Regions from separate parts of the Homo sapiens genome. Here all the other regions are linked to region 3. Evidence: promoter capture Hi-C in 16 types of primary human blood cells and fetal thymus (Javierre and others, 2016). All regions are on one chromosome and are shown on one strand. Each heading gives the region's core, a stretch centred on a gene start or on the middle of the fragment in contact. The rest is flanking DNA. Distances are from core to core; before and after follow the strand shown. Region 1 overlaps MECP2 (methyl-CpG binding protein 2). Region 2 overlaps MECP2 (methyl-CpG binding protein 2). Region 3 holds the start of BCAP31 (B cell receptor associated protein 31). Region 4 overlaps MECP2 (methyl-CpG binding protein 2).

The links. Contacts are between HindIII fragments. The CHiCAGO score rates a contact against its expected background, and 5 or more counts as called.
Region 1: a fragment that was not itself captured here is called in contact with the fragment with the promoter of BCAP31 in region 3 in 1 of 17 cell types (naive B cells); the score reaches 5.5 in naive B cells.
Region 2: a contact is called between a fragment that was not itself captured here and the fragment with the promoter of BCAP31 in region 3, in 2 of 17 cell types (M0 macrophages and fetal thymus). The highest score is 6.1, in M0 macrophages.
Region 4: a contact is called between a fragment that was not itself captured here and the fragment with the promoter of BCAP31 in region 3, in 1 of 17 cell types (M0 macrophages). The highest score is 5.1, in M0 macrophages.

What each region holds. Positions count from the first base shown.
Region 1 is chrX:154,056,613-154,062,965 of GRCh38, forward strand. The region is part of intron 1 of MECP2 (methyl-CpG binding protein 2); the gene reads right to left. Among named protein-coding and RNA genes, the nearest start is that of MECP2, 38 kb to the right of the region's middle. The HindIII fragment of the contact is 851 bases long and covers 868-1,718 here.
Region 2 is chrX:154,086,940-154,093,463 of GRCh38, forward strand. The region is part of intron 1 of MECP2 (methyl-CpG binding protein 2); the gene reads right to left. Among named protein-coding and RNA genes, the nearest start is that of MECP2, 7.5 kb to the right of the region's middle. The HindIII fragment of the contact is 6,480 bases long and covers 825-6,524 here.
Region 3 is chrX:153,719,392-153,725,636 of GRCh38, forward strand. BCAP31 (B cell receptor associated protein 31) reads right to left here and starts at 4,996. Exons shown (of 8, transcript NM_001256447.2): 1 at 4,943-4,996; 2 at 3,762-3,897; 3 at 1,481-1,581. The coding sequence starts at 3,853. ABCD1 (ATP binding cassette subfamily D member 1) reads left to right here and starts at 5,465. Exons shown (of 10, transcript NM_000033.4): 1 at 5,465-6,245. The coding sequence starts at 5,876. RefSeq lists silencers at 4,275-4,454, 4,665-5,624 and an enhancer at 6,085-6,245. The HindIII fragment of the contact is 9,880 bases long and covers 3,018-6,245 here.
Region 4 is chrX:154,037,646-154,044,354 of GRCh38, forward strand. All of the region lies in intron 1 of MECP2 (methyl-CpG binding protein 2), which reads right to left. Among named protein-coding and RNA genes, the nearest start is that of MIR718, 21 kb to the left of the region's middle. RefSeq lists an enhancer at 3,403-3,903. The HindIII fragment of the contact is 479 bases long and covers 2,229-2,707 here.

The DNA of each region.
Region 1 (6,353 bases), core at 43-2,542, 330 kb after region 3:
ATGAACAACTTTATGCTAGTCAGACAAAATGGACAAATTCCTAGAAAAAAAAATTTAACAGCTTACAGTAGCCCAAGCAGGTGCAGGGAAAATAAAAATAGGTTTAGATGTGTCTGCGTGTACATAGAACACCTCAAAAGACACAGACAAGACCCTGGATGCAGCCGTTCCCTGAAGAGAGGCCTAGGCAGCTGGGAGACCAGGGCAGCAGGGACACTCAGACCTTGCATCACTCTGGAGTTTGCACTTCCTGAATTGTGAAGCATGCACATGTCTCACTTATGCAACAGTGAATCCAAACGTGCCTGTATACAAGGAAAGGCCTCACCTGGCTGCGCCGTGGAGGCTGGCCTGGCGTGTGGAGCAGGCAGAACATTAGCAAGCTACCGAGCAGGTGCAGGTATGAACATCAGCTGACGCTGGCTCTTTGCTTTCTTTTTAATCTTGACAAATTTGGTAGGTGAAAAGGCATCATTTTTGTTCTCGTTTGCATCTCTTTGATTACCAGCAGGCAGAACTCTTTTCCTATCTTCATTGGCCATCTGTATCTCTTCTTTTATGAATTTCCTGTTCATAGTCTTTGTTCATTAGTGGTGACTAGTGGTAAGTTAGCAATAAGAACTGTTTGCATTCAAGTCTAGACTGAGAAGGAAATTAAAAAATCTGCCCATGTATTCTCACAATAAATGACTACTGACTAGCCTGAGATAATTGTACCCACTGCCCAGTCACAGGCATTAAGCCTAGGATGATTCATTTCAGACTTGTCCCTGACCTTCCTCATACCCTTTCCAGAAGGGCCCCTTGAGCTGCTATGATACTCCTAAATCACTATCCCATTACCCAAATGATGGAGAGCCAATCAAAAGCTTAGACCAGGACGCTTTCCCAAATTATGTCCCAATACCTTCACAATGATCACTTTATATACAATCTCACTGAATGCTCAGCAACACACGAGAGCAATGTTTAACTGAGGGCAACACTGAGGCTCAAGGAGGGCAAGTGACTTGATTGCTGAGGTCACCTGCTAGGTGCAAGAGCTGAGAATTAATCCCAAGGCTACCTGGCTCAAAAAGCCTAAGCTCATCTACTATACTTGAGGCGAAATCATGAAAGTGTGTTTTTACCTTGCCCAGACCCTGCACACTGCATCAAGGTCCTGAGTTTCAAGCAACAGAAATCAACTCTGGTTAAATTCAATCACAAAGGAGTTCTTGGGCAGCAGATCTGGAAATGGAGAGAGAACTAGAGAACTAGGCTCAGAAAAGCAGCAGGAATAGAGGCTGCACCACTGCAAACACAGCCAAGGTTATACTGCAGGGACCTGCTGGTTGGGACACCCACCCTGGGCACTGTTGCATGTCATCACTGGACATTAGCCACCACTGCTGGTTTTGTGACTCAACTGCCACCACCATGACTAATCCCTCACTGTCCCTCAAGAGTCAAAGTCCCTGAAGGCAGAATGGGTTTGGCCAAACCTAGGCTTCATCGCCATCCCCTAGTTTCCAGAGAGCAAGGGGAGGGAATATATCCATTCCCCTGTGGCAGGCACTGCCAGTTGTCCCCCAACATCCATGTTCTCCATCTGCCTTACTAATGAGACCCTGCGCTCAGCTAAGGAGAGTTATTCCCCGCTTCCCAGCAGACCATGGGACTACGTTATGGCTAAGGAGACAGTGGCCGAGTGCACTCCTGTTCATCGTTCTCTTTCAAGCTTGCTCTTGTTCTACTGACTATGGGCGGAGCACACCTCCCACCCACTGACTCTGGGCTTGCTCACGTGTTGATGGGATGGGGGAAGAAGAGGCTTTAAGAGGCTTCTGTGACTCTGCTCACTCCTCTTGGACTCCTGACCTCCGCCTACGAAGAGACTTCCCCTGGCAGCTGCTTCTCCCTCCTGGGTCCTGGAACGACAGGCTTGAGAACAGATCTGAATCCCATCTTGCAGCTGACCCAGACCCATGTGTGAGAAATAATAATTGCTGTTATAGCTACTGAGCTGCTGGTGCTGTTTGTTCCCTAGGACAAGATGATGGGTGTGAAGATGGAAATGGAAATATTGAATGGGCCTAGAAGTTAAGATGTCAAGTGCCATTTTGCCTTTCCCCTATGACCTCTTTCTTCCTACCTGGAGGAGTGGATGCAATGACTAGAGCAGCAACCGTCATCTCACAACCAAGAGGCAATCTTGAGAAATGGAAGACACCCACTGAGGGGCCCTGGGTCCTGGATCCTTACAAAGCCACTGCAGTGGTCATGGACAGCATGAGAAGGAAGTACACCACAGGCCCCCAACCCCATCTTCAGGTTTTCTTAGGTAGAAACTAGGGTCCACCTGCCTCTTACTAAGATATACACAATGGGGAGACTTTTAACACAAAAAAAGGTATGAAGATGGTCAGAAGCCAAAAAAGCAACAAAATGTTCATGATATGCCGTATGTGGGGTTTACTCACTACACTGCTTTTCCACCGAGTTAGCATAATCACTATAACTCAACCCATTGAAAAAATGACAAAACAGATTCTGAGATTCTCTTCCTATTTCTGTTAGCTAAAAAAGCAGCCTTTGAATTGTTTATAAGTGAATTCAAGAGATAAAAATAAACCCAGATAATTCAGAATGTACTGAGTACAACACATATGCCTTCTATGTGATAAGCTCCCAGCATTATTTATTCAAAGAAAACTTGCCTTGTTGCAAAAATATAAAAAAACTTAAAAAAAAAAAACAAGTAATTACACAACACACCACCTCCTACAACACCAGATTCCTTTTCTTTCCTTTGTAACCTGACCAGAAGAAAAACAAAACATTGTTCAAATTGCTGAGACCCACAAAGTTCAATTAGAGCATAAAAAATGCTCTCCCAAAATATAGCTACTAGCAGGGAAATGAGCAGGCTAAGCCTCCTGGTGAACCTGGACATTGGGCACAAGTAACAGGCACATTTAGACACCAACGACCAGATTCCACATGACTGAATCCAGAAACCCTGCCCCTTCCCATTCCCTTGGAGATCCAGGGGGACGCCATCAATTGCTCACTCCTTCTCCTTACACATACAGTTAGGGGTGCTATACTATACAGGGGAAGGCGTGAGGAAGTCACACATGCTTTGGTGTTCAAGAAGCTCATAAAGCCATTAGGGAAAGAGCAACATGCCAGAAAGCAGTTGTCTCTTCTGGCTACAGAGGTTGCAAAAGACGTCTGCAAGGGTCAGTGAGGGCCCAAAGGAGTAGTAACCAAGGCCCTGAAGCCTGCCTGGGAGCTGAGGTGGGCAGTATCAGCCTCTTCTCAATAATCAGTTCCTAAGGTTCCATCCGAGAAAGTAGAAAACCACAGAGGCCATTCTCATGGGTACTTTAAGCAGTACATCTGTTGGCAAAACACAAATGTTGTTACACAAATACTAAGCCACAGATTGCAAAGGCACCTGACAGCCTTTAAAATTCATTTCTCTTGTTTCGCAAAGCTGCACTGGGAAACTGTGCTGTTAAATTCTACACTCATAAAGGAGGTATGTTTTAAAAGAGGGGCAAATATGTGGGTGCTATTTAGACTCTCATTGATTTGTTCCATGTTTTCAGATAACTACACACCCCTCCGCCCCCGCCAAAGTAACTCAATCTCCACATATTTGCCTTTATATGTACCTTCTAACTCATGACTATGGCTTTGATTATCTCATAAACAATATTGTTCCTGTTAGCCATGGAGAAGCTAAGGAGCCAACAGCAGAGCAGGCTGCATGTTCTTCTGTCCCTCTTATAAGACAAAACCTTAGAGCAATGTCCCACTGCAGAATTTATTTGTTAATTCACTCAATAAATTAAAATATGCATGATTCTAGGCACTGGGGATATATTGAGGAAGAGGCAAAAAAAAAAATCTCTGTCCTCATGGGACTCAGATTCTATAGGGGTGGGGAGAGGGAGGGAGGGGAAGGGAGTGGGAGAGCACAAACAAAACCAAGCAGTAACACAGCTTGTGGCAGATGGTGACAAGTCCTATGCTAGGCAGGGGGAACTGGTGGGGCAGAGGCAGGCTGCCTGACTTACAGACATGGGTGTGCTCGGGGAAGGCCACATTGGGAAGGTGACACTTGAGCAGACATGTGTGATACCTGGGACAGAGGGCAGAGGAGAGGTCAAGGCCTTGAGGCAGGGGCATACTTGGAGGGTCCAGGGAGGAGCCAGGAGGCCAGTGAGGCCGCAGTGCATGAGTGGTGGGAGAGTGGCAAGAGAGGTGATCCTGTTGGGCTGTGACTCTGAGCAAGCAGGGACCCACTGGAGGGTTCTGAACAGAAGAGCACAATATTGCAGGACTAAACAAAGAACCAGGGGGCAAGGGCAGAGGCAGGGAAGCTGGACACCTGGACCAGGGTGGGGGCCATGGAGGCAGGGGAACTCATGAGATTTTGTATCCATCTTGCAGGTGGAGTAACAGTATTTGTGAACAAATGAGGTAACCAGCGCCAGGTTTCTGGCCTGAGGAGCAGGAGTTGGAGTTGCTGTTTACTGGAAAGGAGAAGACCAGGGAAAGAGAAGGTCTAGGGAGGATAAGGAGTTCCCGTGACCCAGTCAGCCTGGAGACATAAATTTGGGAGCCATGAGGCTGGACGGAATCACTTCGGGAGTGAGGGTGGAGAAGAAAAGCCTGAACCTGAGGCCTTCCAACATCACATGCGAAACAGAAAAGACCGAGGAGGACAGACATTCACACACTCACCTAGGACTTCCTGAGGACCCACAGACACCAGGCACTGTTCTAGGAGCTTGAGCTACATCTGTGAATCAAGGAGACAATCCTGTCCTGTGGAGCTTCTGCTCCAGCAGGGGTGACAGCTAAGATAAGCACAGTCAGTCATGTATTCAGCTAGAAAGAGACAAAAGCTGTGGTTTGCACTGAGAAGGTGCACATCAGTGCAGAGACTCAAGGGAGGGAAAGGATTGTCTCGTATGGGTATTGGGGTTAACTGACGACGACAGCTCTGGGAAAAGAAGTGACAAGCAGCTCCCAGATTTAACAACATGAAGGTCATCACTGGAGACCTCATGGAGCAGCTTGGCAGAGCTGTGGCAGCAAAGGAACAACTGGAGAAGGTTGAAGAGGGTGTGGAGACAGGGACTGGAGTCTTGCTGGTAAAGGAAAACAGAGATGCTAGACAGGTGGGGGGTTGGGAGCAGCTTTTGTCAAGGTGGGAGAAGTAGCAACAAGTTTCTAGGGCAGGCGAGGGAGGAATCTCTGATGGGGGAGAGTGCAGTAGAGGACTGGAGAGATGCCTTAGAACAGGAGTGAGGGCCTGGGACAGGCGCTCCGTGACAGCATGAGGGAGGCAGAGCGAAGGAGTAGACGCTGGCCTGTAGACACTCTCTTGAGCTTGCTTCTGTGCTCTCTGGGAACTAAGATATCAGCTGCAAGGAGGTGTGACAGCTGATGAGGAGGGTGGGAGGGGCTAGGAGAGACCGGGGAACTGCAGTATGCAGGTGGGCTTGGCGGCAAGAAGTTTACCTGGGGTAGACATGAACTTAAAGGGGGAATCAATGAAGGAGTCACATTCAGCTTCAGGACGGAGCAGGCATGGGGCAGACATGACTGAATTTCATGAGGCTGGGGCTTTGTCGACTGAATATAACAAAGCAAGAAAGTGCCGAAGGGCTGAGGTAGTGTGCCAGGGAGTAACGACGTCTGACTGGCACTGAAGCTACAAAGGAGAGGAATAAGGATACGAAGGAGGTGAAGTCTGAGAAAAGATGGAGCCACTGATGGATTCTAAGTGCCTGTGAGGTCAAAGGAGTATTGGAGTTGGGTATTAGAGGCAGTGAAAAGGAAAAGGATCTCCTTTTGCAGATCACAAAAAAGATAAAATGACCAGAGCTAAACAACTTTTACAGCACTATCCACTGTAAAAGTTGTTTGAGAAAAAATAAAATGTAGCCAGCCTTCAGAGCATATATGCATCTTTATTTTATTTTATTTATTGAGACCAAGTCTCACTCTGTCGCCCAGGCTGGAGTGCAGTGGCACAGTCTCAATTCACTGCAACCTCCGCCTCTGGGGTTCAAGCGATTCTCCTGCCTCAGCCTCCTGAGTAGCTGTGATTACAGGCACCCGCCACCACACCCGGCTAATTTTTATACTTTTAGTAGAGACGGTGTTTCACCATGTTGGCCAGGCTGGTCTTGAACCCCTGACCTCAGGTGATCTGCCCGCCTTGGCCTCCCAAAGTGCTGGGATTACAGGTGTGAGCCACCACACCCAGCCCAGAGCATATGCATCTTTAAAAAGTTGTCTTCGGCCAGGCACGGTGGCTCACACCTGTAATCCCGGCACTTTGGGAGGCA
Region 2 (6,524 bases), core at 2,815-5,314, 370 kb after region 3:
GGCATGAGCCACCATGCCCAGCCCCATATAACTTTTTTCTATTATTATTTTTCTGAGATGGAGTCTCACTCTGTCGCCCAGGCTGGAGTGCAATGGCACGATCTTGGCTCACTGCAACCTCTGCCTCCTGGGTTCAAACGATTCTTCTGCCTCAGCCTCCCGAGTAGCTGGATTACAGGTGCATACCACCAAGCCCAGCTAATTTTTGTATTTTTAGTAGAAATGATGTTTCGTCATGTTGGCTAGGCTGGTCTCGAACTCCTGACCTCAGGTGATCCACCCACCTCGGCCTCCCAAAGTACTGGGATTGCAGGCGTGAGTCACTGTGCCCAGCCCCGTATAACTTTTTACACCACCTTTTTAATTCCGTATTGTCCATCTAACTATTCAAAAAATCATTTAAAAAACCCCGGCCTTATACAAGAAGTCTTTTCCTTAATCGTGTCATTTATTCTATCCCTCTTCCTTTAAGTAAAAAATATTTTCAATCAAAATCAGAATTCGACTTCAGCTTTGAGGGTATTTATTAGATTCAAATAATGCAATTTATAAAAATTACACTTGCTACCCTAAAAATATATTCACTAAAAGCCTTTTCTTTTTTTCTTTTTTCTTTTTTTTTTTTTTTAAAGAGACAGTGTCTTACTCTAAAGAACGAGGCTGCCCAGGCTAGAGTACAGGAGTACAGTGGTGTGATGATGGCTCACTGTAGCCTAAAACTCCTGGGCTCATGGGATCCTCTCACCTCATCCTCCCGAGTAGCTGGGACTACAGGCATGAGCCACCATGCCTGGCCCCTCTATTTTTATCAGGTGTTACAGAAAAGCTTCAAAATCATCATGGAAGAAAATTATCATTTTTACCAGTACAAAACTTTTATTGCATCCCAACCAAGCTAAGATGAATACAGAATTGTTTCAACAGAAGTTACCATTATCATAATTCAAGACAAAAATCAGCCGGCAATTACATGAGTTGGAAAACAAACTACTCTTATGTCACAGTCTACCCTAAAGCTCCAACTTATGTCAGAATTTAAAATACACACACATATACACAACCCTGTGGATTCCTCCTCATTTATGTAAAACCTACTTTTGTGATGATCTGCTATTTTCTTGAGTCTTCTGGAATGAACACTGTAGCCCCACTCCCGGATAAGGAGAAGATACCACTTCCAGGGCTTAGCACTGCCCCTGGCTTGAAGCAGATACTCAAATATTTGTTGGGTGAATGAATGATTGTCTGCTGATAGGGCTGCCCATCAAGCCTCATAAAGAAAAAATTCAGAAAAAAGCAACTTTATAGAGAAAATAGGAAAAAGTTTAAGAGATATTTTGCTCACTTGAAGAAATCAGCATTTGTTAAAGGTGAAGACTGGATTGACTGGTTCATCAAGTGGCTTAGACACAACTGACTAAGTGGGCTATACCTTATCCCACCCCAAAGTTAAATACAAAACAGGTATTTTTTTTTTTAATCACAGGAAAAACACAGGGCAACTTAACTATAAAATTATTATTTTTATTTTTTATTTTTGAGACAGAGCCTCACTCTATCGCCCAGGCAGGAGTGCAGTGGCGTGATCTTGGCTCACCGAAACTTCTGCCTCCTGGGTTCAAGCGATTCTCCTGCCTCAGTCACCCCAGTAGTTGAGATTACAGGTGCCCGCCACCACGCCTGGCTAATTTTTGTATTTTTAGTAGAGACGGGATTTCACCATCTTGGCCAGGCTGGTCTTGAACTCTTGACCTCAGGTGATCCACCCGCCTCAGCCTCCCAAAGTGCTGGGATTACAGGCATGAGCCACCGCATCTGGCCCTTTTGTATGTATTAAATACGTATGTATGAATATAATACATCATCAGGTTTTTTAGGAAGAAAATATAGATGACTATTGATCTGTTGTTAAGAGTAGGAAAGGATTTCCTGGCGGGGCGCGGTGGCTCACGCCTGTAATCCCAGCACTTTGGGAGGCAGAGACGGGCGGATCACAAGGTCAGGAGATCGAGACCAGCCTGGCTAACATGGTGAAACCCTGTCTCACAAATACAAAAAAATTAGCCAGGCGTGGTGGCGGGCGCCTGTAGTCCCAGCTACTCGGGAGGCTGAGGCAGGAGAATGGAATGAACCCGGGAGATGGAGCTTGCAGTGAGCCAAGATCACGCCATTGCACTCCAACCTGGGCGACAGAGCGAGACTCCGTCTCAAAAAAAAAAAAAAAAAAAAAAAAAAGAGTAAAAAAGGATTTCCTAAGTATGAAAGCAAAAGAATAAATCATAACATAAATTTTATATATCAGAAAGACAAGAATCAAGACGTAAGACAAAACAGGAAAATATCTGCATGACAAAGAGTTAACATCTTTAATACATTAAGAGCTATGACAATGATTATTGAGGTTTAGCCTCAGTAATAATCCAAGCGGCACCAATTTAAAAGATGTATATCCAATTCTGGGACGATATGGGAAAATGGCACTTTCTCAGACTGTTGTGGGAACTGGGATAGCCATTTTGGACAGTGATGTGGTGGTATCCACCAGAAATTCCAAGTCTAGGCAGCCATTCTTCAAAATGACTGGCACATGAGGAATTTCAATCCTGTAGCATTTTTAATAACATAGAGAGACAACGAAATGCATGACGGTAAGTCAGCCCTGGACTACACTGCTATTTAAAAGAAATGAGGCAGAGATGAATATATGAGATGGAAAAATGCAGAATATGTATATATAACACCATCCTGAGGCCAGGCACGGTGGCTCACGCCTGTAATCCCAGCACTTTGGGAGGCCAAGGCAGGTGGATCGCCTGAGGTCAGGAGTTCGACACCAGCCTGGCCAACATGGTGAAACCCATCTCTACTAAAAATACAAAAATTAGCTGGGTGTGGTGGCAGGCGCCTGTAATCCCAGCTACTCAGGAGGCTGAGGCAGGAGAATCACTTGAACCCAGGAGGTGGAGGTTGCAGTGAGCCAAGATTGTGCCACTGTACTCCAGCCTGGATGACAGAGCAAGACTCCATCTCAAAAAAAGAAAAAACAAAACAAAACAAAAACCCTCCTGTTAATTACAACACAAAAAGTACACAGTTTAGTCTTAGAAGACTTAGAAGGATCTACATTAAGCTATTAACAGCAGTTATTCTGGGTAGTGGGAGCAGAGATTAAGCGGGGAGCTTTCATTTTTTTACCTGATACTTTTTTTTTTTTTTTTTTTTGAGACCGAGTCTCACTCTGTCACCCAGGCAGGAGTTCAGTGGTGTGATCTTGGCTCACTGCAACCTCCGCCTCCCAGGTTCAAGTGATTCTCCTGCCTCAGCCTTCCGAGTAGCTGGGACTACACGCTCAAGCCACCATGGCCAGCTAATTTTTGTATTTTTAATAGAGATGGGGTTTCGCCGTGTTAGCCAGGCTGGTCTCGAACTCCTGACTTCAGGTGATCCACCCGCCTAGGCCTCCCAAAGCGCTGTGATTACAGGCATGAGCCACCTTGCCCAGCCACCTGATCAATTTTTAAGTGGTTTGATTTTTCTATAAATCCATGTATTATTTTAGTAATTCTTTAAAAAGTAAAAGAAGAAAAATAGATATCAAGCATTTATCTACTAAAGACGGGTACTGTCCTTTGAGAATTCCCTCAAAAGTTCTTTGAAGCTCAAATGGCTACATCTTTCCCATTCATAAGATACTTTTTAAATTTCCTCTTTCTACATTTCTTTTTAAAAGTTTATTTTCAATTAGCTTCCTCAGGTTGAACTCTCTGTACATTTCTTAGGAGAAACTGTATGGTGTCAACACTGCCTGTTTTATAACATCCATTCGTAATCTGTAATCTGAGAAAAAGACTCGTAAAAACCCAAACCACCCTCCAGGCCTAACATCTTCCAGAAGAAACCCATTCACTGCCCATATTACATTTAGTCCACACAATTTCTGAGACAAAGCACAAAGCACTAGCCATACAACTCCCACCAGCATAAATACGTGGAGTACAAAGAATGTCCTGTCAGCTGGGCCCAGAGCACACCCCACAGCAGTAAAAGAGAATGACAATTTGAGTCACAGGATCAGGAGCAGAATCAAATTTGGGACTTGAGGCAGTGTGATGCTCTTCTGGTCTTCCGCTTCCTTCCACACCTTCTATTCTCCTTCAGCCAAACCTTGCCCTCACATAATCCCTAAGCAGGCTATTTCTTATGGATGTCTACAACAGCTTCACACTGAGGTGTCAGAAACCACTAGAGAGACAACAAAGAACGACTTAGGGTCTCAGTCGGAATCACAATGGCCGCATAAGTGAAAACTCACATTTTTGCTTAGGGGAAAAAAAATGGGAAAATTCAATTGGAACATTCTGCTTTACCACACAGAAGTTCTGAAATCCACATGTCAAAACATCAAATGCGGAGTGACCACTAATCAAAAAGACAAAACAAAACAACAACAACAACAACAACAACAAACAGCTTGAGATGTTGAGCCTGAAGGTTGAGAAATTAAGGAACCATTCATTTTTACAAAACTAAAGTCCACACAATGGTGCCAAGTAGTTCAAACTGCAGCTGATACAGCACCTGAGTGTCAGACCTAGAATGACTGGGGCCCCCAGGTTTTTACAAAGTACTCATCCTCCTCTAGAGTCCCAAGAACCAGATGTATATCTGGGTACTCTCTTTAGTTACCATGGGAGGAGTGTAGCAAGCACATGACATTAGCCATGGCCCCCGGTGTTCTGAGACAGCTTTCAGGAGGGTGTCCTTCTAGGGAACCAACCACATACCAGTTCCCATATCTGAAAATGCATTACCACTGCTCACTAATGTTGACCACTAAGCCATTTACCCCAAACCAAAGCAAACACATGCTGAAGACCGCTAAGGCAACAGCAGCAGCGCAAAAGGGCTCAGTGCAAGCGCTCTCAGCTCAGCTGACCTGCTTCAAGGTGAACTGAAGTTGCAGATCACCAGTTCCGGCTCTAATCTGACGCCCGCCCCCAGATCACGCTGTGGCGACCAAGTAACCCTACACACACTGACCTTTCAGGGCTCAGGGAAGTGACTTTTTTTTATTATATGGCACAGTTTGGCACAGTTATGTCTTTAGTCTTTGGGGTACTTTTATACTGTCCAAGAGTAGTATATTTTTTTCCTCTTTTCCTTTTTTTTTTTTTTTTAAAAAAAAAAAAAACAGATGGCCAAACCAGGACATATACTAAAAAAAAAAAAAGGAAGGTTACTTACCTGAGCCCTAACATCCCAGCTACCATGGAATCCTGTTGGAGCTGGTCTACAGAAGCAAGGTGTATTCTGGGGAGTCACATGTCACATCAAAGCAGGAACTGGTGAGTCTGTATTTTTATGGAGCCTAAAACAAAGAAAATTGTAAGTTGAAAGCCCCCATTGAGCTGCACGACCTTTTTCCCAGGGCTATTTGGGACATTTTGAAGATAAACACATAGACAAAGTACTAGGCTATTTCCCAGCTTACCTAGCTAGAAACAAAGGATAAGCTGCAAATTACTGGCACGTAACACACAGTGCTAAAATAAAGGAAAGATTCATGCTTGTTAGAATCAACACTATCACAAGCCTTGTCACCTCTAGGGGACACTTCGACACTACAAAAGCATACCATGAGTGGCGATTTCTGGCAAGTATTTCTTCTACCACGGCACACAGAAATTCTCAGGGAAGAATACATGTTCAAGAGAATACGCAACATCAAAATACCATCCCTGAAAGAACACATGGAACCTAGAGGCAGTCTCCCTTCTTTTTCAAGCAGCTGAATGAAGTTGCAATAAGCTGCTGTAACAACATCACATAAAGGGGCTTTAATCCTGAGAGAAAAAATCAGCACCAAGGGAAACCAAGTGCTCTGGGAGACCCAAAGCCATCATCCAAAACATGCAAGTCTATTTCAGGGCAATCAGTTTTAAGCCTCTCAGATCAGTCAATCTCGATGTTCAACAAACTCAGTTATTAGTTTGATAGTTTCTCTTTTTCTTTTGAACACATGTTCAAAAAAGGACTTTTGTCAGTACCTTTTTTGTCATTAAGATAACCATCATTTCCTAGTTAAAGCCTAAACTGCCCCATATGAATTAGCTAATTTCTGATACTATGCTGGCCCAAGAGTAGCACTTTTATAAGCTAAAAACGAAAGCTCAGAGCATACAACTTAGAGACTATTCACACAATTACTCATGTAATCAAACCCAGAAGAAGGGCAACACCAACCAAGTCTTTTACTGGTCTGTTGCTGCTCTACAGCTACCAGGATGGTACCTAAAATTATCTTTTGAGGTTCAGTGAGGCCTCATAATTCCCTTAAACAGTCAAGTCATAGAATACTTTGAAATCCCAGAAGTCAAGTTAATAGTATTACTCGGCTAGCTATATAATAAAAACCAAACTGGTATCCTGGCTAGGAGGCCCTGGAAAAGTCACAACTTCTCAGGGACACAAGTTTTTTTTGTTTGTAAACTGATGGTGCTGGACTAAGAATCCTTCTAGTTCTT
Region 3 (6,245 bases), core at 3,746-6,245:
ACTACCTCTTGGGGCCTTGCCAAGTATTTCAAGAACACTGAGGTGCTCAGGCAGCTGGCACCTACCCTATGTGGTTGGAAGCTGTCAGGTAACACTTGGCCTGTTCAGAGGCAGTCCAGCCTGAACATATCCTATCAGGCTCTGAGACATCAGGAAGGAGAAATGCCTAATGCTGAAGCTGGTGGGTGAGGCTTTGCACATTCCCCTGAACCACAGCCCCCCACCCGCTCAGTGTTTCTGCTGGGACTCGGTGGGAGGAGTGTTCCACGCCTAGGCAGGCACCACAGCTCTGAGACAAGAGTGGTGTCCACAGCAGAGCCAAGCCAATACTTTGGAGCCCAAACAGGGGGACATATCGATCACTTACCACAGCAAAACAACAAACATCTACCAGTCAGACAAGAGCTTTATTGATTCTTGTCTCCAGATGGTCACCCTACCACCTCATTGCAAAATGTCTGCCTTTCATCTTACCACCACCTGGCCTGGCCTTATCCCAGAGCCTGCTTGCCCTTGGACCAGTTTATCTTTCAAGCACCTGCTAGTGTACACCTCAATGTCAGAGTTTACAGAACTACAGAGCTGGAACGACCTGGGAAAACCTCAAGTCTAGCCCAGATGCAGAGAGGTCTAGGATCTCTCCCCAAGATATGCTGCCACACATCTCTGTGTTCTCCTCCTACTACTACAGGGAATGGCAGGACTTCACTGTGTGCTTGGTTGCTCAGTCCCCCATTAGAGGCCCTGCTCCAGGCAATTCTGCTGTTTAAGTGACTGGTGAGCAGCACTACTCAGACCAAGGTCACAGGCCAGTTAGCTTCTCTTGGCTTCAGTTCTAGAGTGACCTGAGGAGCAGCCTCAGAAACCTTAGGCGTCCCTCCTTCCAAGGTCTTGAAAAAAAGCAATGTAAGGTGGCCGTCATAAGCTGCATACAAACTGCTTGGTATAAGCCCACGCCCACTGCTAGAGGGGCCTCTTTTTTTTTTTTTTGAGATGGAGTCTCCCTCTTGTTGCCCAGGCTGGAGTGCAATGGTGCGATTTAGGCTCACTGCAACCTCTGCCTCGTGGGTTCAAGCAATTCTCCTGCCTCAGTCTCCCAAGTAGCTGGGATTACAGGTGCCCGCCACCACGCCCAGCTAATTTTGTATTTTTCGTAGAGATGGGGTTTCACCACGTTGGCCAGGCTGATCTCGAACTCCTCATCTCAGGTGATCCACCGACCTCAGCCTCCCAAAGTGCTGGGATTACAGGCATGAGCCACCATGTACGGCCTAGAGGGGCCTCAAAGTGAAGAACCGACTAGCGGTCAGCAGCATGGGCAAAGGGAGCCTCTTCCCTCCCTCAAGAGAAAGACACAGCATTTCATTGGTCTGTCTCCTAGCAGCCAAAACTGGATGCTACACATCAAAAGTGGCAAAGGGTTTTGCAGCAGAGACCAGGGTCTAGGTCAGGTAGCTGCCCTCAGCCATAGCTCACTCACCGATGACCAACAGCACAAGGATGACAATGAGAACCACAAAGAAGGTGTTGCCATAGGACACTAACAACTCCACCAGCCGGGACTTGAAAATCTTCTGCCATCTGTGAAGAAGACAAAAAGGACAGGAGTTGAAGAGAAAGCACACACACGAGCTCTAGGGCCCTGAGCAAAATGGAAATCCAGCTTTGTACTCTTCTCCAATGGCCGAATAGCCCATGCAAAGTCAGCCTCAGTGGCTTGCAATTCTCTAATTTGACATCCATTCAAGACTATTGGAAAAAAGGCCAGGTGCAATGGCTCACACCTGTAATCTCAGCACTTTGGGAGACCAAGGTGGGTGGATCACTTGAGGTCAGGAGTGCAAGACCAAACTGGCCAACATGGCGAAACCCTGTCTCTACTAAAAGTACGAAAATTAGCCAGGCGTGGTGGTGGGCACCTGTAATCCCAGCTACTCAGGAGGGTGAGGCAGGAGAATCACTTGAACCTGGGAGGCGGAAGTTGCAGTGAGCCGAGATCGCGCCACTGCACTCCAGCCTGGGTGACAGAGCGAGACCTTGTCTCAAAAAAAAAAAAAAAAAAAGATGCTGGTCCACGTATAGATCAAAATGTCTGGAAAACTAATCTTTTTTTTTTTTTTTTGAGACAGAGTCTTGCTCTGTTGCCCAGGCTGGAGTGCAGAGGTGTAAGCCACCGCGCCCAGCCTGGAAAACTAATCTTAAACGTGGGCAGTTGGCTGGGCGCACTGGCTCACGTCTGTAAACCCAGCACTTTGGGAGGCTGAGATGGGCAGATCACCTGAGGTCAGAAGTTCAAGACCGGCCTGGCCAACATGGTGAACTCCCATCTCTACTAAAAATATATATATAAAAAAAAATTAGCTGGGCATGTTGGCAGGCACCTGTAGTCCCAGCTACTCGTGAGGCTGAGGCAGGAGAATTGCTTGAACCCGGGAGGTGGAGGCTGCTGTCAGCCGAGCACCACACCACTGCACTCCAGCCTGGGTGACAGAGCAAGACTCTGTCTCAAAATAAAAACAAAAACAAACAAAAAAACCACAACAACAAAAAGAAAACATACTGGTAGTCTCTGAAAAGGGAAACTTACTTTTCATTGTACTCCCCTTTGTAATATTCAAATGTTTGCCCCATACACGTTATTTCTTTAAACTGTCTTTCCACATGATAAACCTTGGTTTGTCTATATCCCCCGACCCTGTTATGATGAGATGGACCCCAGACCTCACATCATTTCCATCCACAAATGCTTTGGGATGCAGCTCTAAGAAGAGACTTCAGAAGTGTTTACATATTGTTCAAATCAACAAGAAGCCCTCATCATCAGGGCTAGAGTTGAATATGCCAATCACTGAAGGCAATGATATTTGTTTGAATCCGGACCCAACAAGGTACCGATTTGGCATTCGGTAGATAAACGTCTTAAATCCAGCTTATTCTGGAAGCTCCCCCTTCCCTCTCCCTCTTTCATTTGCTTTTCCAGTTTCCTTTGTGTAGAAATCAGATTGTCTGTCCTCTAAAGCTTCCCAGATTAAAGCTCCCCGGGGCCCTCTATCTCTGCACGTCTTGTCAACTGTACGAAGGTGTGGTTTTCTACAAGAATCCTCCTCAGACAGCACTGCATACTTTCTATGGTATCACATCAAAGATAATTTTTCACGAAAAAACGGCTTTTAAAAATACCTGTGGAGATTTGGCCTTATTTGTAATATCGTAATTTAAATAGGGATGTGTTCAGGTATTATACATAATTAAAATTAATCTCCAATTCACTTTTAACAGGTCCTCTGTTCATTAAAAGGGAATATGGCTTCATCCTCCACAGGCTGAGTAATGTTCATGCAGCCACTGCGCAATACCAGTGAGACTAGTTAGGAGGACAAGAGTCACCAAATCAGCAACAACGTGACCCAGTGGTGCAAGTCTTCCGAATCCCACGCTACCATCCCAGCACCCCGTGGACCAAGAGTGGGTGGGAGGGCATCATTTCCAGAACTGTAACATAGATCTTCCTGCCTCTCGGGGGCATTCTGAAGACCAGAAGGCAGGGGACACAGGAAAAGGAACTGAGCAAGTCATGACGAAGCAGAACCCTGGGAAGGGTTGGCAATAACAAACACAACCCCTGCCACCCCCACCCCAGACAGGTTCTACCTGTTCCATCGGGTCCCAATTCCAGGGTCCACCAGCTGCACACACCAGTCCCAGGGCTAGGGCACAGGCACCCTCCTGCCTAACTCGCCTGCTTGCTCCATAGGCCATACCTTTTAGGAGAAATGAAGGGAATGCAGAGAAGCAACACAACAAAGACCTCCGCATAGAGGAAGGTGGCAACTGCAGTCCACTGCAGACTCATCCTGTTGCTAGAAGGTTTCCCACAGGAAGATGTGAGCTTGTTTCCTGGCAGGGCACAAAAGGTACGGGACTTGTAAGCGCTGGGCAGCCAAGAACATCCAGTTCAGTTACCCTGCGAGGCTGGGGCCGCCACTCTCCACCCTGACCCCCTGCACTTTGCTTCAAAGTCTCTGATGCGCTGGCGGAAGCAGGGCTCCACTCGGCAGGGCCTCTTGGCCAGCAGCGTTCACAGGCCCCACAAACTTCCGTTCGCTGGTCAATTACCTGCCCCCTCCAGCACGTGTGTCAACACGTCCAGAGCGGCCTCTCCCGACGATCCCTGCCCCAGGAAGCCCGAGATTTCCGACGCCCGTTTAACTGAAAGGCGTTCTTCGGGAAGAGCAGTGCCAGGGCACCAAGAGGAGGACGCCTCGGCACCCATCGGGCGCTCCCTTCCCCGCCAGGCAGAACTCAGCCGCAGAGGCGGGCGCTCTGCGGGCCCAAATCCCCGCTACCAGGCAGGCCCAAGGCCGCACCTAGTCCAAGCGCTGCCGACGCCCCCGCCTCCCACCGTCCCCACGGCGCCCGCGGAGAGAAACCGGCACCTCCCTCGAGGATCCAGCGGCCTTCCGCCCGGGGCCGCTTCGCCTCCGGTGGGCTGGAGGCCCGCAAGAGCGACTCCTAGAGGGCAGGATTCGGGACCAAGCGCAAAGGCAGGTCTCGACCAAGCACCTCAAGGCCCCATACGGAGAAAGTTCTAGACGCAGTATCCTCAGAAGCCAGGGGTCCTTACAGTAGCCCTCGCGGGCCCCAGCGCCCACCCAGAGCGAGGGGCCTCCGACTTGGCCCCGGCCTGGCACACCGTCCCGGAGGCCCATCCCGGCCGCTCCTCCAGGTGGGGCTTCACCGCCCCCCGCCCCGCCCCCGAGACCAGCTTCTAGAGGCGCCGCCCGGTTTCCCCTCGCCCCTGCCTCTCACACGCAGGTAGGCTGCGGGCCCCGAGATTCCCCGGCCCCCGGGCCTCCCCGCGCCGCTCGCCTCTCTCCCTCGTCGATGGGCCGGGGAGCCTCCGCGGTCCCGGAGCCCAGCCCGGCGCGCGGAGCCCGCTCACCGAGTTTCCCACAGTCAACGTGCAGGCCCCGCCGCAGCAACAGAACTCTCCCACAGCAGCCCCGGCCCCGCCCCTCATACCGCGGCCGGAAACCGGAAGCGCCCGCCGGGCACCGCCCACCAGCCCTCGCGAGGCCCCGGAGGCTCCGCCCACCTCCGCTTCCCACCCCGCCCCGGAGCGGAGGGCCGGCGCTCCGAGCGGGAGAGGAAGAGGCGCCTCGGGCTCCGGGCGAGCAGGGCGGGGTGGAGCGAGCACGCGGGCGGGGCGGGGCGGGGCTTTGTCGGGCCGGCGAGGGCCGCTTCTCTAGTCCGCGCGGCCGTCCCACGTCTCTGTGGTGCGGGAGGGGCCCCGCCGAGGGGCGAGAACGGGAGGTGGGGGTGTGGGCGGGCCCCGCCGAGGGGCGAGAACAGGGTGGGGCTCCCGCGCCCGGACTCCGCCCCTCGCCCCTCCTCCGCCTCCTCCCCTTCCCCCGACTCGCCCCTGGGGAAGAGTGGGTGGGGATTCTGGGCCGGTGGAGGAGTCACTGTCGCTTCAGCCAGGCTGCGGAGCGGACGGACGCGCCTGGTGCCCCGGGGAGGGGCGCCACCGGGGGAGGAGGAGGAGGAGAAGGTGGAGAGGAAGAGACGCCCCCTCTGCCCGAGACCTCTCAAGGCCCTGACCTCAGGGGCCAGGGCACTGACAGGACAGGAGAGCCAAGTTCCTCCACTTGGGCTGCCCGAAGAGGCCGCGACCCTGGAGGGCCCTGAGCCCACCGCACCAGGGGCCCCAGCACCACCCCGGGGGCCTAAAGCGACAGTCTCAGGGGCCATCGCAAGGTTTCCAGTTGCCTAGACAACAGGCCCAGGGTCAGAGCAACAATCCTTCCAGCCACCTGCCTCAACTGCTGCCCCAGGCACCAGCCCCAGTCCCTACGCGGCAGCCAGCCCAGGTGACATGCCGGTGCTCTCCAGGCCCCGGCCCTGGCGGGGGAACACGCTGAAGCGCACGGCCGTGCTCCTGGCCCTCGCGGCCTATGGAGCCCACAAAGTCTACCCCTTGGTGCGCCAGTGCCTGGCCCCGGCCAGGGGTCTTCAGGCGCCCGCCGGGGAGCCCACGCAGGAGGCCTCCGGGGTCGCGGCGGCCAAAGCTGGCATGAACCGGGTATTCCTGCAGCGGCTCCTGTGGCTCCTGCGGCTGCTGTTCCCCCGGGTCCTGTGCCGGGAGACGGGGCTGCTGGCCCTGCACTCGGCCGCCTTGGTGAGCCGCACCTTCCTGTCGGTGTATGTGGCCCGCCTGGACGGAAGGCTGGCCCGCTGCATCGTCC
Region 4 (6,709 bases), core at 1,218-3,717, 320 kb after region 3:
AAGCAAATATAGTATGATGATTTTCAATTCTGTGCAATGAAAGGCACATGGGTGTTTGTTAATTTGCTGGCTGCTACTTTTATAATTAAAGACAAATTTCAAAAAACCCACAAAGAAGCCTGGATTGTGCTGGGTGTGGAGTGCAGGTAAAAATGATAAAAAACGTGGATGGAGCTGGAGTCCATTGTCTTCAGTGACACAGCTCAGACACAGAAAGTCAAATACCGTACGTTCTCACTTAGAAGCAGGAGCTGAATAGCATGTGCACATGGACAGAGTGAGGAATGGCAGACACTGGAGAGACTGGGAAGGGTGGGAGGGGGTGAGGGATGAGACATTACTTAACGGGTACAATGTCCACTATTCAGGTGATGGTTACACTGAAAGCTCAGACTTCACTACTATACAATATATCCACGCAACAAAACTGCACTTGTACCCTTTAAATTTAACAAATAAAAAACAATGATAGAAAACAGGTATTCCAAATGAGTTTACCCTTAGCCCAGAGGGCCTGCCCAGTCCCAGGGTGACCTGGGCATTTGCACACCCTCACTAAGCCTTCACTGCAGGACCCAAGGGAGGGAGGCTGGGCTAGGGTGCCAGGTGACTCCCCAAGGCTGTCCCCCAGGGGGTTTATGGTGTTTGCCGAAACACAAACTTTTTCAAAGAAACCTGCCAGGTGTGGTGGCTCATGCCTATAATCCCAGCACTTTGGGAGGCCGAGGCAGGTGGATCACCTGAGGTCAGGAGTTCGAGACCAGCCTGGCCAACATGGCGAAAACCCCATCTCTATTAAAAATACAAAAATTAGCTGGGCATGGTGGTGCATGCCTGTAATCCCAGTTACTCAGGAGGCTGAGGCAGGAGAATCACTTGAACCCAGGAGGCAGAGGTTGCAGTGAACCGAAATCGTGCCACTGCACTCCAGCCTGGGTGACAGAGTGAGACTCCATCTCAAAAACAAACAAACAAACAGAAAACAAAACAAAAAAAACCCCATACACCTCTCTTCATCCTCCCTCTAATCAGAACCCCCCACACACACACAATCTTGATTATGAGGAGAACTAAATAGCTAGTTCACAAGTTCATACATTTTACAGTTGAAGTATCCTCAGAAAAACCACCTATTCAACTCCTGAGTGTTACAGATGGAAAAAAAGAAGTTCGACTAGACAGAGGAACTTGTCTGAGATCACCGTGAGTCAAAAACACACGTGTCTGTTCACCAACTGCCTTCGTCCTGAGCCAGATCCTGCAGCATCCTTCCACCTCCAAGAACTCACAGTTTGGAAGGGAGGACAAATAGGTAACTACAACATAGTTCCAGCCTCCCTTCCCCCTGAAGAAAGCTTGCTCCAGGCACAGCGGAAGCACAGGGGTGTGGATAATGAATCAGGAGTGAGTGGGCTGTCAGGGCTTATGAGTTCCACAGGTGGGACAGAGGGCTCAGGGCATGCCAGGCCAGATGGGCAGAGGCGGCACTATCAACATGGTTATAGCTCCCACCCTATCACCCGTGTGACGCCCCTCCCTCGAGGAAAAAGTGACCAATGATGCCCACCCTGTGTCACCAGAGGCTCTGGGCCTAACCCTGTCACCCCCTCCCACCTTTTCATTTGGAGAACTTTCAGGTTCATCTGGAGAACTTTCATCTTTCAGGTTCAGTTAGGATGGCACTTCTAGACCGGGCGCAGTGGCTCATGCCTGTAATCCCAACACCTTAGGAGGCCGAGGTGAGCAGATCACTTGAGGCCAGGAGTTTAAGACCAGCCTGGCCAACATGGCAAAACTCCGCCTCTACTAAAAATACAAAATATTTGCCGGGTGTGGTGGTGTGCGCCTGTGGTCCCAGCTACTCGGGGACTGAGGCATGAGAATCGCTTGAACCTGGGAGGCGGAGGCTGCAGTGAGTTGAGATAGTGCCATTGCACTCCAGACCAGGCGATAGAACAAGATTCCACTTCCCAAAAAAAAAAAAAAAAAGATGGCACTTCTGAGACACCTTCCCTGCTCCTGCCTCCCTCCCTGCTCTATGAGCCAGGGCACCCGAGCCCTCAGTGTACTTAGAACACCCCACTGTGCGTGCCAACCCCCATCTCCCCGCTCAATGCATAATGCCAGGCACAGGTGCAACCCTTACTCAACACATGCTGGATGAATAACCACAACACGGACGCAGCGCTCCACGTGCTTCTTCTGATGGCTGGAGACCTTCGACCGTAAGCTTCTAGCAAGGAGAGGCTAGCTCAGTGCTGAAAAAAAGGTGGGCTCTGAATTGGTGAATAAACAAATGATGAGTTTGGGACATATCAGTAGTCCGTTGGACACTGGTGGCTTGGAGATGGCGGAAGATGAGGTGGAGGAAGTCACTGAGGAGGGCCTCAGTGCCCCAGGGACAGTAGCATGGAGGATGGTTACGCCAGAGGATGGATCGACTTCTAGCCATGTGGTGGTCAGGTATGCAGACACCTCTCCTGCTGAAACAACTACAACTGCCAAACTGAGTATCTTACAGAAGCTGCTAGAGAAGCCACCCACAAGCTGGCAAGAAAGGAAGGAATACACAGGCTGAAGAGCAAATAAAAGTACGGGGCCCTTTTCTGTGGAGAAATCTGGCAGGCACCACCTTAACACACGACCAAACTGAGCTCAGGCCCCTCAGTGCTGCTGAGATGAACCAGCATCACGAGTAGGAGACTGAAGCTTACCGTGAGGAGACAGCAGGAAGAGTCCAGAGAGGGCGTGCCATGCAACCACGGTCTGGACTCAAGATGATGAGAGAAAACAAGGGGGTGGGGGAACATTTCTGATAAAGGAGACTGAAGGGATGACACAATCGAATACAACACACAGTCCTGGACTCTGCATTCCAGGCTCAAAGGCTCTAAAAAAGGCATTTATGGGGTATGTGGAGAAATGTAAGGTTCTGTGTTAGCTCATTGCTAAACTTCCTGAGTGTCTTAACTGTACTGTCTGCTCTTAGGAAAGGCATGCTTAAACGTTTAGGAGTGAAACAGCACGAGGACTATGACTAACTCTCAAGTGATCAATGGGCTAGGGGAAATACAGTGCCAATATGGTAACATGTTTAAAAGAAGGGAGATGACATCAATATAATCAGAAGCTATGCCAACTGACAGTAATATTTTGAAGCAGTGGTAGGCAAGCTTTTTAACAATTAAAGAGAATGCCTTCATATTACACAAAGACATTAAGAAAAAAAGCTGAAGGCTGGGCACGGAGGCTCACACCTGTAATCCCAGCACTTTGGGAGGCTGAGGTGGGCGGATCACGAGGTCAGTTCGAGGCCATCCTGACCAACATGGTGAAACCCCCTCTCTACTAAAAATAAAAAATTAGCCAGGTGTGGTGGCGCGCACAAAGGGACCGGGGCGGTGCTGGCGGCGATGCCAACAGACCTCAGTGTACTGTGGGGTTCTTTCAGCCAGAACTGTTCATGGTTTCATCAGTGAGCTCCAGTTACCACACCACACAAGTTTGGAGTGATCCACCCCGCCCCAGTTTTTCCTGCACGAACTCATGTTTTTATTGTGTGATTTACAGAACACAAGATCTTTTTCTAAGAATGCACACATCACACGTTGAAGCAGAAAGGCCTTTACAAAATCTTAAAATACCTACAAAATATGAAGTAAGGCTCTTAAGAAATAAAATATTCAATGATTTTGCTGCTAGAATGCAAACATTAGATCAAATCCTTCATTTGATCTAGCAAAGGAAAATTAGAGTTGCAGGAATCTTGTTTTCAGGCCAAACCATGACATCCTGAGGGGTCTGATGGCAGGAACTGCCTGCATTTTCCTCATGAATGTGACCTGCAGTGATCTTGTGAGAAAGGCCCGGAAGGCCGTGCAAATTACAGGGGTACAAGCAACAGCTGGCAGGTGTGGCCAGACAGGCAACTGCAGTTAAGGAAAGACTACTCAATCCCTGAGGTTTTCAGATTTTACAAAAAGGCAAAAAAGCCAGGTGAACAAGGCAGATGAAAGGTATTTTTCACTTGAATTGGAATCCAGCCCCCTCCCTGTCCCCTGGAGTGAGCTCCAGAGAAACTTCCAGAGCCCCAGCAATATCCCAACCTTTCGTAAATTCACTCATGCTCGCCACTTTCAGGAGATGGCATTTCTCAGCACCTTTCACTTCCAGTTATCCCTCGGCACAGCACAAAGAGCTAAACTACCACTCGAGGCAGTTAACCTAAGGGCAGGGTGGTGGCTACAGCTCCAGGTGAACAGTCTGGGACCAGAGGAAATAATGAGCCCCCCCTTGTACTGGCTGCTTCCACCCTAAAGTGTCATCCAGATGGTGTTTCCAATTCTTTCTACTTCCAGTATTAGCTGCAGAATTACGGAATCAAGGAGGCTTCTCTGCATGAATCAATAAAGGCTATAGCACTTTGAGACACAAGCTTTGGCCCTTTAAAAATGTGAGAAATCAAACTGGCACAGGCAGAGTGTCTCAGTGGTCTCCAGGGAGCAAGAGAGAATGAGGTTCAGCTTGAAGGCTACAAGGGTGGAGCCTGAGGTTCAGCTGCCCTGCTCTGAATTCGCAGTCCATTTCTTAATCCTCCACTTTTGAGAAGATGCGAGAAACCAGTTATGTTTTGCTAAGCTTAAATAAAATGCAGTTCTTGCCAACCAAAAGCAGAACCCTCCCCAAATACAGGCAACCAGTGCCATACAGCAAATCTCATCTTTATAGATGTGTAAAATGAAAACCGAAACACAAGCCCACCACATACAGGTTAAAAAATTCCTGCTGTGGAGAACAGTTTGGCAGTTTCTCAAATGTTAAACATGGAGTTACCATATGACCTGGCAATTTTACTCCTAGCCATACACTCTCAAAAAGCCACAACTATGCCGGGTGCGGTGGCTCACGTCTGTAATCCCAGCACTTTGGGAGGCTGAGGTGGGTGGATCACCTGAGGTCAGGAGTTTGAGACCAGCCTGGCCAATATGGCGAAACCTTGTCTCTACTAAAAATACAAAAAAATTTAGCCGGGCATGGTGGTGAGTGCTACCTGTAGTCCCAGCTACTCAGGAGACTGAGGCAGGAGAATTGCTTGAACCTGGGAGGTGGAGGTTGCAGTGAGCAGAGATCGTGCCACTGTAATCCAGCCTGGGCGACAGAGCAAGACCTTGTCTCAAAAAACCAAAACAAACAAACAAAAAACCAAAACCAGTAACCAAACAGATATCCGTACACCAGTGTTCATGGCAGCACAGTTTACAACAGCCAAATGGTGGGGGCAACCCAAATATGCATTCCCAAGGGATGGGTGGATAATCAAAACCTCATTATCTATAGGATATAATATCATTCAGCCTCAAAAAGGAAAGAAATTCTGACACATGCTACAATGCAGATGAACCTTGAGGACATTACGCTCAGTGAAAGAGGCCAGACACAAAAGGCCAAATAGTGCATAATTCCATTTATAGGAAATGTCCAGAATAGGCAAATCCATAGAGACAGGAAGTGGATGAGTTGTTGCCAGGGGCTGCGGGTAATAAGAGGTGACTGCTCCTGTGTCTGGGGTTTCTTTTGGGTGCTGAAAGTGTTCTGGAATGACACAGAGGCGATGGTTGCACAACTCTGTGAATGTACTAAAAGACACTGAATTGCACATTTTATTTTTAAACAATTTTTTCTGTGAGCCTATGAATTATACTGAAGAATGAATTGTACACTTTAAATGAGTAAATTTCATGGTATGTGAATTATATCTAAATTAAAAAAAACAACAACATTAAAACAGCAGCTGACCACCAATTATTCTAAATCATAAAGATAGGTTTTGTGATGCCTGGCCAGTGCTCAGAGCCCACACAGCTGTCTCAGAGCAAGTCTATCTGGCTGTGGCACAGAGCCCCGGCAGATAGATGGGCTGTCCGTCTGAGGAAGAGGCCAATGTGGGGACCTATAGTGATACATGACAGACTGGACCAAGCCAACCTGAATGTGAAACTCTGAAGCCCAGGACACAATAACCATGACAATCAGAAAGGAATTTAGTTCAAGAAGTTTAATGAGTAGGCATTTAGCCAAGTGGAAGGTTGTTGGCTATTCTGAGGACATTTGATCTTTTTTTTTTAATTGTGGTAAAATACACATAACATAAAATTTATCATTAATAGCATTTAGTACATTCACAATGTCATGCGACCATCACTACTCTCTAGTTCCAAAGACAACCCTTTACCCATTAAGCAGTTGCTCCCCACTCCCACTCCTCTCAGCCCCTGGTAACCACTAATCTATTTGTCTCCACAAATCTGCCTACTGTTGACACTTCATATAAGTGGAATAATACCCTCCCCTGGAAAGCCTGTCTTTTAAAAAATGATTTTCATTTAAAAAAGTTTTTTTGCTTAACACAGTGGCTCATACCTGTAATCTTAGGAAGGCAGAGGCAGGAGGATTGCTTGGGCCCAGGAGTTCGAGATCTGCCTGGGCAACATAGTGAGATCCCGTTATTCACAAAAAGGGGGAAAAAAGACCAGGAAAAAAAAAAATCCCAAAACTAAACAACGAAAAAGTTTTTTTTAGGGAGATAGGGTCTCGCTGTGCTGCCCAGGCTGGGCTCAAGCGATCCTCCTGCCTCAGGCTCTCAAGTAGCTGGGACTACAGATGAGCTACCACGCCCAACTTAGAAACATGTATTTTTTTCAGATTAGCT